3 separate regions of the Homo sapiens genome follow, and regions 1 and 3 are each linked to region 2. Evidence: promoter capture Hi-C in 16 types of primary human blood cells and fetal thymus (Javierre and others, 2016). All regions are on one chromosome and are shown on one strand. The core of a region is centred on a gene start or on the middle of the fragment in contact, and the rest is flanking DNA. Distances in the headings are between cores, read along the strand shown.

Region 1 (4,316 bases), core at 746-3,245, 300 kb before region 2:
CACCAGCAATGCTGAAAATAGGAAAAGTGAAAAGCTGGGCTAGGCCACCAGGATAGTTTTCTTTTATTATTATTATTATTATTATTATTATTATTATTTTTTGAGACAGAGTCTCGCTCTGTCACCCAGGCCGGAGTGCTGTGGTGCGATCTCGGCTCACTGCAAGCTCCGCCTCCCGGGTTCACGCCATTCTCCTGCCTCAGCCTCCCGAGTAGCTGGGACTACAGGCACCCACCATCACGCCCGGCTAATTTTTTTGTATTTTTAGTAGAGATGGGGTTTCATCGTGTTAACCAGGATGGTCTCAATCTCCTGACCTCGTGATCCGCCCGCCTCGGCCTCCCAAAGTGCTGGGATTACAGGCATGAGCCACCGCGCCCGGCTCATTATTATTTTTTTGAGATGGAGTCTCACTCTGTCACCCAGGCTGGAGTGCAGTGGCGCGATCTCAGCTCACTGCAACCTCCACCTCCCAGGTTCAAGCGATTCTCCTGCCTCAGCCTGCCAAGTAGCTGGGACTACAGGTACATGCCACCATGCCCAGCTAATTTTTGTATTTTTAGTAGAGACGGGGTTTCGCTATGTTTGCCAGGCTGGTCTTGAACTCCTGACCTCAGGTGATCCACCTGCCTAGGCCTCCCAAAGTGCTGGGATTACAGGCGTGAGCCACAGCACCTGGCCTAGGATAGTTTTCTTTAAAGCCACTGTGTTGTAAAAGGTCAATTCTCACCTCGTTGCTGGCTGCGACTAACTTGTTCGTTTTCCCCTGTGCTTCGGGAATATGTTACCTCTGTAAGATAATAAACAACAAATAGTGTGCTTAGCCTTTATTCATCAGACCCCTGCCCTCCCACCACACAAAACCAGGACGCAAAATTCAAATCATTGAGCATCTGCTGCTGCACAGTTAAAGGCCCCATCTGGTTTTCTATGTCTACAAGAGGTTCCGAATACACAGAGACTGGGAAAGGTTAGGACTGCATTAAAGCAGCTCCAAGTGTTCCAAATTTCCAGTCATCCTTCCAGTACATTCCATACAGGCAATTTTCCTAGCAGCAGATTTTGTTGTTGTTTGTTTAAGGAGTTTCCCTCTATAGTCCAGGCTGGAGCACAGTGGTGCGATCACAGCTCACGGCAGCCTTCAACTTCCAGGCTCAAGCAATCCTCCTACCTCAGATTCCTGGGTAGCTGGGATTACAGGTGTATGCCACCATACCTGGCTAATTAAAAAAAAATTTTTTTAGGCACTTGTCTCGTTACGTTACCAAGGCTGGTCTCGAGATCCTGGGCTCAAGCAATCCTCTCGGCTCTGCCTCCCAAAGCACTGGGATTACAGGCGTAAGCCACCCCACCCAGACAATGGCTGCAGATTTTGAGGGCTGCACTGGTCAGAAACTTGGAAAGCAAAGAAAAGTGATGTTTTGCCAGTTTGTGCTTAAAACTATTTCAGGGTAATAATACCTGCTATAATCGTATCGGCAATCCTTCCACAATGACCAGACATGGCAAGATGAGTGGAACTTTTGTTTCTGTCTCACTTATTCAATATTTATTACACGCACCATCTATGCCCGATACTAAGTGCTGGGAAAACACAGATGAATGGCAGCCCCCATCTCCTTCAGCTCCCTCGCTCACTTTAGGTCATTTTCTCTCAAATTAAGTGTGTGCGTTACAGTTAGGAGTATGGGGGGAGCGGGGAGGCAAAAGGAATCTGATGTTAATCCCTCCACCGCCCCAGGCTGTCCCCAGGGCCACAAGTACCTCGGAGATTGCCCTCGTCGCTGAAGGTAGTGGTAAGGACCCCCTCGGTGACCACGCAGCCGCAGTCGGAGCACACCAGCTGGCTCTGCGAATAGTGCGAGTCTTCCACCAGCTCCGTGGAGCCGCAGTCCGGGCAGCGGCCTCTGCCTGGCATCTCACAACCGGCCCCAAAGCCGCGGAAGCCTTCAGAGACTCCTGGGTCTGCAACAGCAACCGTGAGGCAGCAAGAAGTAGGAGGGGACACTTCAAAGGGTTGCACCCCCGTCTTCCGGCCAGCGCGACGGAGGCATAGGCGGTTCCCTCCGCTGGGAGGCTGCGCGCCACTTCCGGTCTGTGCCTCCGCGGGCTCGGGTAGAAACGTGAGCTAGGAGAGGAGGTTCCTGGGCTGAACTGTAGCTGTCTGGTTTCCCTGCACTCTGTAGTTAGTTTTTGGGACCTAGACTGGGGTTGAATTTGGGAAAGTTTTTGCCTACATGGACACGTATAACAGACAGAAGATTGTTGTCACCCCTGAACAACCCTCCTTTTAAAGTCCTAAGGGAATCGCAGGTTGGTAATGAATGTTTAATTGGCCATAGAAGAAAGTATATTTTTTAAAGGGAGAGTAGTGGAGAGAGAGCGGGAGCAGGAAACTGTGTTCTGCTTTCCAGAGCTGCTTCCTAAAGCAGATTCCTTCCTCTCTTTACCTCCTGTTTTTCTCAACTGTAAAATGAGGAAGTTGAAAAAAAAATCCAGAGATGCAAACCCAAACGCTTTTGGAGGCCAGGCAGGAATGTCTAAAGGAGTTTGGAGTGAAAGAATATGGAGTGATGGAGACCTGGAGCGGCGCAAGCACGCAGATTCAGATGTTTTTTAAAAAACCTTGAGCTATCTGGGCGTGGTGGCTCACGCCTGTAATCCCAGCACTTTGGAAGGCCGAGGCAGGTGGATCACCTGAGCTCGGGAGTTTGAGACCAGCCTGGGCAACATGGTGAAATCCCGTCTCTACTAAAAATACACAAAAATTAGCTGGGCGTGGTGGTGCACGTCTCTAATCCCAGCTACTCAGGAGGCTGAGGCAGGAGAATCGCTTGAACCCAGGAGGCGCAGGAGGCGCAGTGAGCCAAGATCGCGCCACTGCACTCCAGCCTGGGTGGCAGAGCGAGACTCCATCTCAAACAAAATAAAACATACCTTTAAGAAGTGTCACTCCCTTCTTTTCCACACCCAGTTTTTACACGTGATATCCAAACCTAAAGACACCATCCCTTCCCTAAGAGACTGCTTTCTCAGAGTGTGAGAATCACTACTCCTTTTCAGAGACATCCCGTCCATTCCCATGGGGATCGCTCACATTGGAGGGCCAAGAGACACAATAATACCCAACGGTCCTTTCTCTTCAATTTGAATTACTTTAGTATCATAACAGAAGGGGGCTTCAGCACATTAATCGTGGGTGGGATCCGGCAGTCCAAGCCCCCCCGCCTTTTCTAGACCTCCCCACTAGCGTGAGATACAGGATGAGAGCTTATTTCTGGCTGTCTGACAGTTAAATATTAAGATACATTTGCACATGCGCACCCGCACACACACACCACTCAGAGACATCCATTAGTTTTAGTGTGGTTGACATTCTTATTTGGATGAAGAAAGTGTCCCTGAAAGCGACATAACTTGCACTGGGAACAGTTCCTTGCATGATCACACAGCAGAGCATCAGACTCCCCTCATCCCCAGTTGTGTGCAGATCTTGAACCTACCTTCACTTTTTTTTTAAGCGGGACTTTACAGAGCCCATCTACCTAGGACAGAAGCCTTGAAATCCTGCCTGACCCAACCTGATTGATTGTAAAGTGGAAAAGCAGTTTTATGATCCTGCAGCCAGCCACGGAAGGAGAAAGCTGGTTGTCTTTCCCAGTCACACATGATGTACTTACTGGGAGCCTAGGAGAGCCTGGTCCTCGGGCACACACAGGCTGGGAGGGGGCAGGGTCCAGGCCAGAAGATGGCGCCCTCTACTAAGATGTGTAAGTTTGGGGTTCTCCACTTTCTCAGGAAGAAGTCCATTTATTTGGGAAATGTATTTGCCTTGCTCCAGGAAATCTGGACAGACGTGGAAATCATCTTGGTGCCCTCTCCACTGCTCCCAGTTCTTCTAAGAGTTATCATTCCTGGTAGTGATTATCTTATTTTTTAATTTTATTTATTTATTTATTTTGAGAGGAGTCTCACTCTGTCGCCCAGGCTGAAGTGCAGTGGCACAGTCTCAGCTCACTGCAGCCTCCACTTCCCGGGTTCAAGCAATTCTTCTGCCTCAGCCTCCCAAGTAGCTAGGACCACACGCGCCCACCACCATGCCTGGCTAGTTTTTGTATTTTTAGTAGAGATGGGATTTCACCGTGTTGGCCAGGCTGGTCTCAAACTTCTGACCTCAGGTGATCTGCCCACCTCGGCCTCCCAAAGTGCTGGGATTACAGGCATGAGCCACCATGCCTGGCAGTGATTATCTTTTTAACAGATGCCCCGAGTGCCCAGGGTGGGCTTGGCCAGAGCAGAAAGCTAGTCATGGGGAG
Region 2 (4,775 bases), core at 664-3,163:
GGAAAAAGCTGTGTTCAAGCAACCAGAAAAATCCTACTTCATAAGGAGAATACAACTCCTGAGGCCTGTGTGCTTGCATGAGTCTGTGTGTCTGCACGAGTCTGTGCTTGCATGAGGTCTGTGTGCTTGCCAGAATCTGATTGCATGAATCTGTGCTTCTGTGAGTCTGTGTGCTTGCATGCATAAGCTACTCTGTGTGCCCCTGGATTCTGGGCCAGGGAAGCCCTGTCCATCTAGTGAGGACGACAACACCACTGCCAGCTGCAGATCTAAGCATGGCTTCTCGCTCTAAAGGTAGCTAATTCAATCCAGTGTAATTGGAAAGATCGTGCCTAGATTGACTTGTGTACCCTTCAGTGGCAGCAGGGGATTGATTCAAATGACCTTGGATGCGAATCAGCTCTACAAAAGTGGCCTCTTGTAGCTGGTTTCTGCCCCTTCCTGGCTATTCAATGATAATCAGTCTTCCGTCTTATCTCTTTACCTTGCCCTCCTGTCTTACTCCCCTATGTCTCTTCTCCGTCTTTTTTTGCCTGTGGGAGTCAAGTCTAATATTTACTCTGCCACTGTGGGCAAGACTTTCCTGTGTACCCCTGCTACAAGACTTGTCCAGCTCTGAAGGAAGGCAAAGTCAGGAATAGTTCAAGAAAGATGGCCAGGCATGGTGGTGCACGCCTGTGGTCCCAGCCACTCAGGAGGCTGAGGCAGGAGAATTGCTTGAACCCAGGACGCAGAGGCTGCAGTGAGCCAAGATAGCGCCAGTGCACTCCAGCCTAGGCAACAGAGCGAGACTGCCTCAAAAATAAAATAGGCTGAGCGCCATGGCTCATGCCTATAATCCCAGCAGTTTGGGAGGCAGATCACCTGAGGTCAGGAGTTCAAGACCAGTCTGGTCGACGTGGCGAAACCCTGTCTCTACTAAAAATACAAAAACTAGCCAGGCGTGGTGGCATGCACCTGTAATCCCAGCTACCCAGGAGGCGGAGGTTGCAGTGAGCCGAGATCGTGCCACTGCGCTCCAGGCTGGGCAACAGAGTGAGACTCCATCTCAAAATAAAGTAAGCCAGGTGTGGCGGCTCACACCTGTAATCCCAGCACTTTGGGAGGCCAAGGTGGGAGAATCCCTTGAGCCCAGGGGGTCAAGACCAGCGTGACCAATATAGCAAGACATTGTCTCTAAAAAAAATAAAAATAAAAATAAATAAATAAAACTAGCTGGTTGTGGTGGTGCACGCCTGTAGTCCCAGGTACTCAAGAGGCTGAGGTGGGAGGATGGCTTGAGCCCATGAGTTTGAGGCTGCAGTGAGCTATGATTGTTCTACTGTACTCCAGCCTCTGTGACAGAGACCTTTATTCAAACAAAAAAAAAAGAAAAGGCGGAAGAAAAAAAGAACGAATGAAGGAAAAGGGGAAGGAAGAAAGGAAGAAAGAAAGGAAAGGAAGGAGGGAAGGAAGAAAGAAAAAGAATAAAAATGAAAGAAAAGGAGAAAAAAAGATTGGAGTCCTGGAGGGGAGACCAGAAATTATAGAATCTGGAAGGGATATATCTTAGTAACCAGCCCACTTCTTCCGAGGGGAAAACTGAGATTCAAGAAGGGAAGAAACTTGCCCAGGTTCACCCAGTAAGAGGCACAACTAGGATCAGAATTGGGTGGCCTGAGCCTCATCCGCTGAGAGCTGGCCAACCCCTCATCGCCTCCTTCCCGCAGCGCTCACCCTTCATGTTGCGCATGTGTCTGTAGGAGCTCCCAGCGCACAGCTTGAATGTCGCTAGCAGCATTGTTTCCTGGCAAATGTGGCAGTGGTGGGGTCGCTGCCGCTGCTGCTGCCGCCGCTGCTGCTGCCTCTTCTCTCAAGGGTGGTTCTTCGTCCTTCCTGAGCCCCTCAAGCTTCGCCTCTGAGTCCCGCAGCTGCAGCCTGGACCTGGTGTTCTGCGTCTTAAATGTCCCCCGCTGAAGGCTGTGCATCATCATCAGGAGATAAAAACGCCATCACTCACTGTGCAAAGGAAGGGGTCAAGGATAGAGCGATTGCCTCACACTGCTGCTTTGGCCGTTTGTGGGGAGCTTGGGGCGGGGGAGGGTGCAGGGGAGAGTAGGGAGGACAGGGCCAGGCGAGGGATGGAGGGGAGAGAAGCAGGGGCAGCTTAGATGAAGGCACACAGTGGTTTTCAAGACTTTAAAGTGCAGATTTCTAGCCCTTGTCTTCAGAAACTCCAGGCTCAGCTGATCTGGAATTGAGGCTCAGAAACCTGTGTTAAAAAAAAAAAAAAAAAAAAAAAAAAAAAAAAAAAAGAAGGAAAAGAAAAGAAAAAAGAAAAAAAGAAAAGAAAAAAACTTCCCTTGGCCAGGCGCGGTGGCTTACGCCTGTAACCCCAGCACTTTGGGAGGCCGAGGTGGGCAGATCACTTGAGGTCAGGCGTTCGAGACCAGCATGGCCAACATGGTGAAACCTCATCTCTACTAAAAATACAAAAAATTAGCCGGGTGATGTGGCAGGCACCTGTAGTCCCAGCTACTCGGGAGGCTGAGGCATGAGAATCACTTGAACCCAGGAGGCAGAGGTTGCAGTAAGCCAAGATCGTGCCACTGCACTCCATCCTGGGCGACAGAGTGAGACTCCGTCATAAATAAATAAATTAAATAAATAAATAAATAAATACCCAGTGGTTGCAATGCAGGTGTTGTGTGGACTACACACTACACTTTGAGAACCACCGTCTCGCGAGAGTGAGCCAGGGTGTTTACCAGGCAGTAGAGACCATATGGCTGCTCTTCTTCTGGGTGAGGACCCTGAAGTCCACAGAGTGGAACTGACTTGTTCAAGGTCAAACAGCTGGCCAGTGGCAGGGCCAGGACAACAACCCAAGCCTCTGGCCTTCAAGCCATCTGTACACAGTTCCTCCTGCGGTCCCCAGGACGCTTGGTATATTCAACTGTCAATTTATTTACTCATCTATTTATAGAAACCACCTTTCCCAAAGTCCTGTTCCGAGTGAGGGTTCTTAGGGGTCTGTGCTGGAGCAAGGATGACCTCTCGTGGCTGAGTCGCGGGGGGGCGGGGGGGGGCGGGGCAGCCCTATCAGTATACGGCAGAGAGAAGAGGAGGGCCTGGGCCACGCCCACACCCTTCCTCACACTTTCCCGCCAGTAGCTTTGTCTGAGTGAGCTGGGCTGGGGGTCTTGGTATGTGCAGAAAGCTTGAAAAGACAGGGCATGGGCTGGGCACAGTGGCTCATGCCTGTAATCCCAGCACTTTGGGAGGCTGAGGCGGGCAAATCACAAGGTCAGGAGTTTGAGACCAGCCTGACCAACATGGTGAAACCTCGTCTCTACTGACAATACAAAAATTAGCCGGGAGTGGTAGCGTATGCCTATAATCCCAGCTACTCAGGAGACTGAGGCAGGATAATCACTTGAACCCGGGAGGCAGAGGTTGCAGTGAGCCAAGATAAAGCCACTGTACTCCAGCCTGGGTGACAGAGCAAGACTCCGTCTCAAAACAAAAACAAAAACAAAAAAACAAAAATTAGCCAGGCATAGTGGCAGGCACCTGTAATCCCAGCTACTCAGGAGGCTGAGGCAGAATTGCTTGAACTTGGGAGGTAGAGGTTGCAGTGATCTGAGATCACACCATTGCATTCCAGCCTGGATGACAGAGCGCGAGACTCTGTTGCAAAAAAAAAAAAAGGAAAAAAAGAAAAGACAGGGCGTTGGGGTGTTCACCCTAGTCTTTGCACTTTAGGGGCCCTGTCAGGCTGAGCAAGGCCCCACGAGGCCTCTGCATTTCCCACTCACCCTTACCCAGGCGCAGCACGTGCTGGGCTCTGACTCTGACGGAATCTCTTCCCTTTACAGTGACCTTGAGGCTGCTTTTAAGCCAGATTCACTGGGCAAGAATATTGGGAGTGGAAAAACTCACACTGGAACTGCCCCTGGCCCAGGCCCTGCTCCCTGTGGGAGGGAGTTCTGTGTCCTGCCACCACCTCACAGAGGCAGAGGGGAGCCCTAAAAATGGGGAGCAGTGCCGGGGCCCCATGCACTCTCGCTGTCTCCCCAACACCAGACAGGGTGAAAGGGACAGGATCTGCTCAGAGCCAGGCCTGGCACTTGGAGCCCATATAGAACAGGGGAGTCACCCCCCTGGCCCCCGATTTCCACCCCGGTGATGCAGTCGGGGAATCCTGTGAGCAGAGGCTGCCTAGAGGTACCCGGCCCCTTCCTCAAAACCTCCTCCAGGAAACCTTCCTAGACCATCCTGGTCTTCTGGAATGCTGGCTCCTCCCACCACACCCTTACTGTCAGTATCACTTGAGGGGCTTAGTTCTGGTCCTGATTTGTTGAATGGTTTGTATGTGTTTGCTTGTCTCTTCTGTGGAATTATCTCCCCAAGGCAGGTGCTGGGTCCACTTTCCCCCTTAAAAGCTGTCCCCACCCTCAGCACTCACCTCCAGCAGAGACACAGGGGACTCTTGCTCCTTCTCTATTAAAACTTTTTTTTTTTTTAATTTTTAAAAATAGAGACGGGGTCTTGCTATGTTACCCAGGCTGGTCTTGAACTCCTGGGGTCAAGCCATCCTCCTGCCTCGGCCTCCCAAAGTGAGCCACTGTGCCTGGTGTGCTCCTTCTCTATTGAGTGACCAACTGGGAAAGCAGCTAGGGGTGCAGGTATATCTTTAGACTCAGGAAACCTGCCTGAAGGCATTGTTTCCAGCCCTCAGTCCCCAAGGAAGACAGCAGGGCCTCTCCCCCGTCGCCAGCCTGTGCCTAGGCCCT
Region 3 (4,548 bases), core at 1-2,500, 270 kb before region 2:
CATCTTTTGTAACATAGAGAAAAGAGGGTTCAAATTTAAATTCTTTTTGAGAAACATTTAAGCTTCTCATTTAAATGTCCAAAGATGAAAGAAGAAAGGAAGGAAACTAACATAGCTTGCCATCAGTCATAAATCGTTGAGATTACTTAAAGGCCAGTATACAAAGTCATCAAGAAGAACTTAAAATGAATTCACAAAATACAGCAAGGAGAGGATAAAATTATATGAGCTATAATTTTGGACCCTTAGGAGACAAATCTTTTATGGTTTTTATAACCTCAATCCAGAGCTGGGCAGGCGGGGAGTGGTGGGTGTTGCAAGACGCAAGGTCTTTTTTTATTTTTTATTTTTTGCAACAGGGTCTCACTCTCTTGCCCAGGCTGGAGTGCAGTGGTGCGATCATAGCTCACTGCAGCCCTGGACTCCTGGGCTCAAGTGGAAAATGCAAGGTCTTTATAGACAATGTCACCCTTGCCAGCCTAGTGTCTGTCCAATACATTTTCCAGGGCCTGGCCTGGAATTGTCTGCATATTTGTCACTTCAATTTTGAGAGGATTATTTATATTTTTCTCTTCTGACAGTCATGTGGTAAATGGTAGCCTTGGTGATGAAGGGTGTTTAGCTTTTGTAAATACCAGTTGCAGGCACCTGAAAAGGAGAAGTTGCTGAACGCTAACTGAGGAGGTTTCGATGACCTCACCAACCGCAGGCGGGCAGCACGCTTCACCTCCCCGCCCAGGGCAGGAGCTTCAGGCAGGGGTTTCTCCACAGCTCTTCCACACGGGCCCTTCTATTAGCCCTCCACGGGGATGCACAAATGTGACAGGCCTCCAAAGCAGCTGTCAGAGGCATTCAAACCAGTGCAACTCCATCTTGAGTGAGGGCTAGGAAAATGAGGCTGGGACTTGCTGCGCTGCATTCCCAGAAAGTTAGGTATTCCTAGCCTCTAGATGTTTATGGGTAAGGGAACAGATGGATAATGTTTACCAAACAGACCCAGACTTGGGAGTGTTCTAATATCCCCAAATCTGGAGAACAAAGGCTATCCTAATTTTGCTTTGAAGCTAATAATATTGATTCTCACAAAATATAGTAATTAAGAAAATTAATCCTTTATCACAAACCCTTGTAGTAGGGCACATCTCTCAATGATCTTTTTATCCTGTGTATGAATAAGCATAGTGCCTAGAGTGGAGGTGTTCCTCCTCTTACTTTCGGGAACGTCCTACTCTGTCTATGGAGTAGCTGTACCTTCAATACTTTGCTTTCTTAATAAACTTGCTTTTACTTTGCACTGCAGACTTGCCCTGAATTCTTTCTTGCGGGAGACCAAACACTCTCTTTTGGGGTCTGGATCAGGACCCCTTTCCTGTAACATAGCCAGTTGACAATTCCAAGGGCCAGCCTTGCCTTTCCGAAAGTATCAGTGAGGTTTTCTTTGCACTTCCTAATGGTTTTTGAGCAAAACTACAACCGATTCCAGAATCCTCCCTCGGGACCAATTATTACCTGATTCTCAGGTCCAATCCCTGGGTCCTAAAGTGGGATTTGCTTTGGAAACTTCCAACACCATTAGGAAGTGCAAATATAAACGTCACCAACTGTTCTTGCTGCTTAATTTCACAAGCAAACCTAAAGCCAAACACCAGGTAGCCAGGCACCAGCCACGGGGCTATTGAAGGATATGAAACAGGCTGAATCACAGGCCAGCAGGGAAACAGCCCAGGCAAAGAGGCAGAATTTACAAATCTGTGCTCCATGTATTAAAGCTGGAAAGCAAAACAAGAATTGTTTCGTTTTTTTTTTTTTCTGGTTTTTTTTTCTTGGTGTTTGTTTGTTTGTCTGTTTGTTTTAGAGACTGAGTCTCACTCTATCGCCCAGGCTGGAGTGCAGTGACGTGATCTCAGCTCACTGCAACCTCCTCCTCCTGGGTTCAACCGATTCTCCTGCCTCAGCTTGCTGAGTAGCTGGGATTACAGGCGTGCGCAACTATGCCCAACTAATTTTATGTTGGCCAGGCTGGTCTCAAACTCTTGACCTCAGGTGATCCGCCTGCCTCAGCCTCCCCAAGTGTTGGGATTACAGGCGTGAGCCACTGTGCCCAGCCAAGAATTGTTTCTTTTACTAGCAATATTATCCTCAAATTCAAAAACAGTTTAAGCAAGGGATGTTTGATAGAAGCATACTTTGATAAGACAGTGAAAGCCACAGTGCTTGAATATCTTGCCCTAAGAAATCCCAAACCAGAAGAACACATCTGGGGATTTTTATATTTAAGATCAACCCAGTTTCTAAGTGTTACTGCCCATGTGTTTTTCAGTTCACTTAATTCCTGCACCTCACAGAAGTAGCTCATAAATAATAAAGTCCCAGCCTAGCAACACAGCATGTGATGGCAGCGTGGGTGTGTTCCAGTATTATCTTTCACGTAGGCCCTGAAAGCTTGAATTATCTCAGAAATCAGGGTTGGGTCCATTTCCCTAGTCCAAAGGGCAGAAAAAGAGAGCCATAATCCCAATGTAGCAAGTTTATTTTTAAGCCCATATTCTGAAAAAATCTTGCCACCTATCAAAAGTAAAAATCAAATGATCCCTTCAATAAACAAATTATTATTGCTTATCATTAAACTCAGTCCTGCAAGAATTAAAAGGATCTCTGGATATGTAGAAAGTGACATAATTTTATTTATTTATTTATTTATTTATTTATTTTTGAGACAGAGTCTCATTCTATTGTCTATTGCCCAGGCTGGAGTACAGTGGCATGATCTCAGCTCACTGCAACCACCGTCGCCCAGGTTCAAGTGATTCTCCTCCCTCAGCCTCCCGAGTAGCTGGGAGTACAGGCGCACACCACTGCATCCGGCTAATTTTTGTATTTTTACTAGAGACAGGGTTTCACCATCTTGGCCAGGCTGGTATCGAACTCCTGACCTCATGATCCACCTGCTTCGGCCTCCCAAAGTGCTGGGAATACAGGCGTGAGCTACCACACCCGGCCAACATAAAATTTCTATAAACTATATACACACACATATATATTTTGAGATGGGGTCTTGCTCTGTTGTCCAGGCTGGAGTACAGTGCACATTCATAGCTCACAGCAGCTTCAAAGTTCTAGGCTCAAGCCATCCTCCCACCTCAGCCTCTTGAGGAGCTGGGACTAAAAGCATGTGCCACCACACCCAACTAGTTGTTGTTGTTGTTGAGACAGTCTTGCTCTGTTGCCCAGGCTGGAGTACAGTGGCATGATCTCGGCTTACTGCAACCTCCACCTCCCGGGTTCAAGCAATTCTCATGCCTCAGCCTCCAGAGTAGTTGGTATTACAGGCAAATACCATCATGCCCAGCTAATTTTTGTATTTTTAGTAGAGACAGGGTTTCACCATGTTGGCCAGGCTGGTCTCGAACTCCTGACCTCAAGTGATCTGCCTGCCTTAGCCTCCCAAAGTGCCAGGATTACAGGTGTGAACCACTATGCCAGCTAGTCTTTTGTTTTGTTTTAGAGATAGGGTCTTGCTATGCTGCCCAGGCTGGTCTTAAATTCCTGGCCACACAGAATCCTCTCACCTCAGTCTCTCATAGTGCCTGGGATTACAGGTGTGAGCCATTGCACTCGGCCTATATTTTTTAATTGTTTTTTTTTTTTTTGAGATGGAGTCTCACCGTGTTGCACAGGCTGGAGTGCAGTGGCGTGATCTCGGCTCACTGCAACCTCTGCCTCCCAGATTCAAGCAATTCTCCTGTCTCGGCCTCCTGAGTAGCCAGGATAACAGGCATGCGCTACCACACCCAGCTAAGTTTTGTATTTTTAGTAGAGACGGGGTTTCACCGTGATGGCCAGGCCGGTCTCGAACTCCTGACTTCAGATGATCCGTCCACCTTGGCCTCCCAAAGTGCTGGGATTACAGGTGTGAGCCAGAAGGCCCGGCCCCCAGCCTATATTTTTAAGTAATAACAGGCATTGGGTAAAAATTCAAATCATACAAAATGGTATAGGATGAAAAATTCCATCTTCCCACCCCTCCTGATCCCATGCCCCTCAGTCTCCATACCAGAGACAACCACTATTATCAGTTTTATACACCCTCCCAAATGGTGGTCCTGCCACAGACAAGCAAAACTGTGTATTATCCAAATAGGCTACCCTGCAGTTTTTGTTTTTGGGGATCTTATTTTTTTTTGGTCAAACACAAGACAAGGCACAGATAAAAGTATACAAAAAGTCATTTAAGTTTTCTACACTTTCAAAAAGATGTTTTATGAAGAGAAATAAGGGAACACAGAAAAAGAATGAGCTAAATACAATGCAGAAAAAAACATGAGCCTGTGCCCACACACAAGAGTGGTGTGCAGGGCACCCCTGAGTAGCCCACTGGGAAGCCCGTGCCTGCATCCATACTGTGAAATCTCTTGGGCTTTTCAGTCCTTCTGGAACAGCTAAGACCATTCAACCATGCCCTATCCTCAGGGCCGGTGTGCCTCAGAACATGGAGTTGGCTTCCCAAACATACCCAGAGCTGATCCCAGGGGTCCTTCTGTCGGAATG

What was found. Contacts are between HindIII fragments. The CHiCAGO score rates a contact against its expected background, and 5 or more counts as called.
Region 1: the fragment with the promoter of BRF2 here is called in contact with the fragment with the promoter of STAR in region 2 in 5 of 17 cell types (erythroblasts, megakaryocytes, total B cells and 2 more); the score reaches 10.5 in erythroblasts.
Region 3: a contact is called between a fragment that was not itself captured here and the fragment with the promoter of STAR in region 2, in 1 of 17 cell types (erythroblasts). The highest score is 5.8, in erythroblasts.

What each region holds. Positions count from the first base shown.
Region 1 is chr8:37,847,866-37,852,181 of GRCh38, forward strand. It overlaps BRF2 (BRF2 general transcription factor IIIB subunit), which reads right to left and starts at 1,996. Exons shown (of 4, transcript NM_018310.4): 1 at 1,765-1,996; 2 at 731-790. The coding sequence starts at 1,918. RefSeq lists enhancers at 1,672-1,811, 1,852-2,201. The HindIII fragment of the contact is 8,285 bases long and covers 1-4,316 here.
Region 2 is chr8:38,149,039-38,153,813 of GRCh38, forward strand. STAR (steroidogenic acute regulatory protein) reads right to left here and starts at 1,914. Exons shown (of 7, transcript NM_000349.3): 1 at 1,717-1,914. The coding sequence starts at 1,780. RefSeq lists enhancers at 1,753-2,052, 2,401-2,433, 4,477-4,775 and a promoter at 1,887-3,202. The HindIII fragment of the contact is 1,310 bases long and covers 1,888-3,197 here.
Region 3 is chr8:37,881,363-37,885,910 of GRCh38, forward strand. The region is part of intron 1 of RAB11FIP1 (RAB11 family interacting protein 1); the gene reads right to left. Among named protein-coding and RNA genes, the nearest start is that of RAB11FIP1, 16 kb to the right of the region's middle. RefSeq lists enhancers at 1-65, 463-572, 1,981-2,100. The HindIII fragment of the contact is 2,380 bases long and covers 61-2,440 here.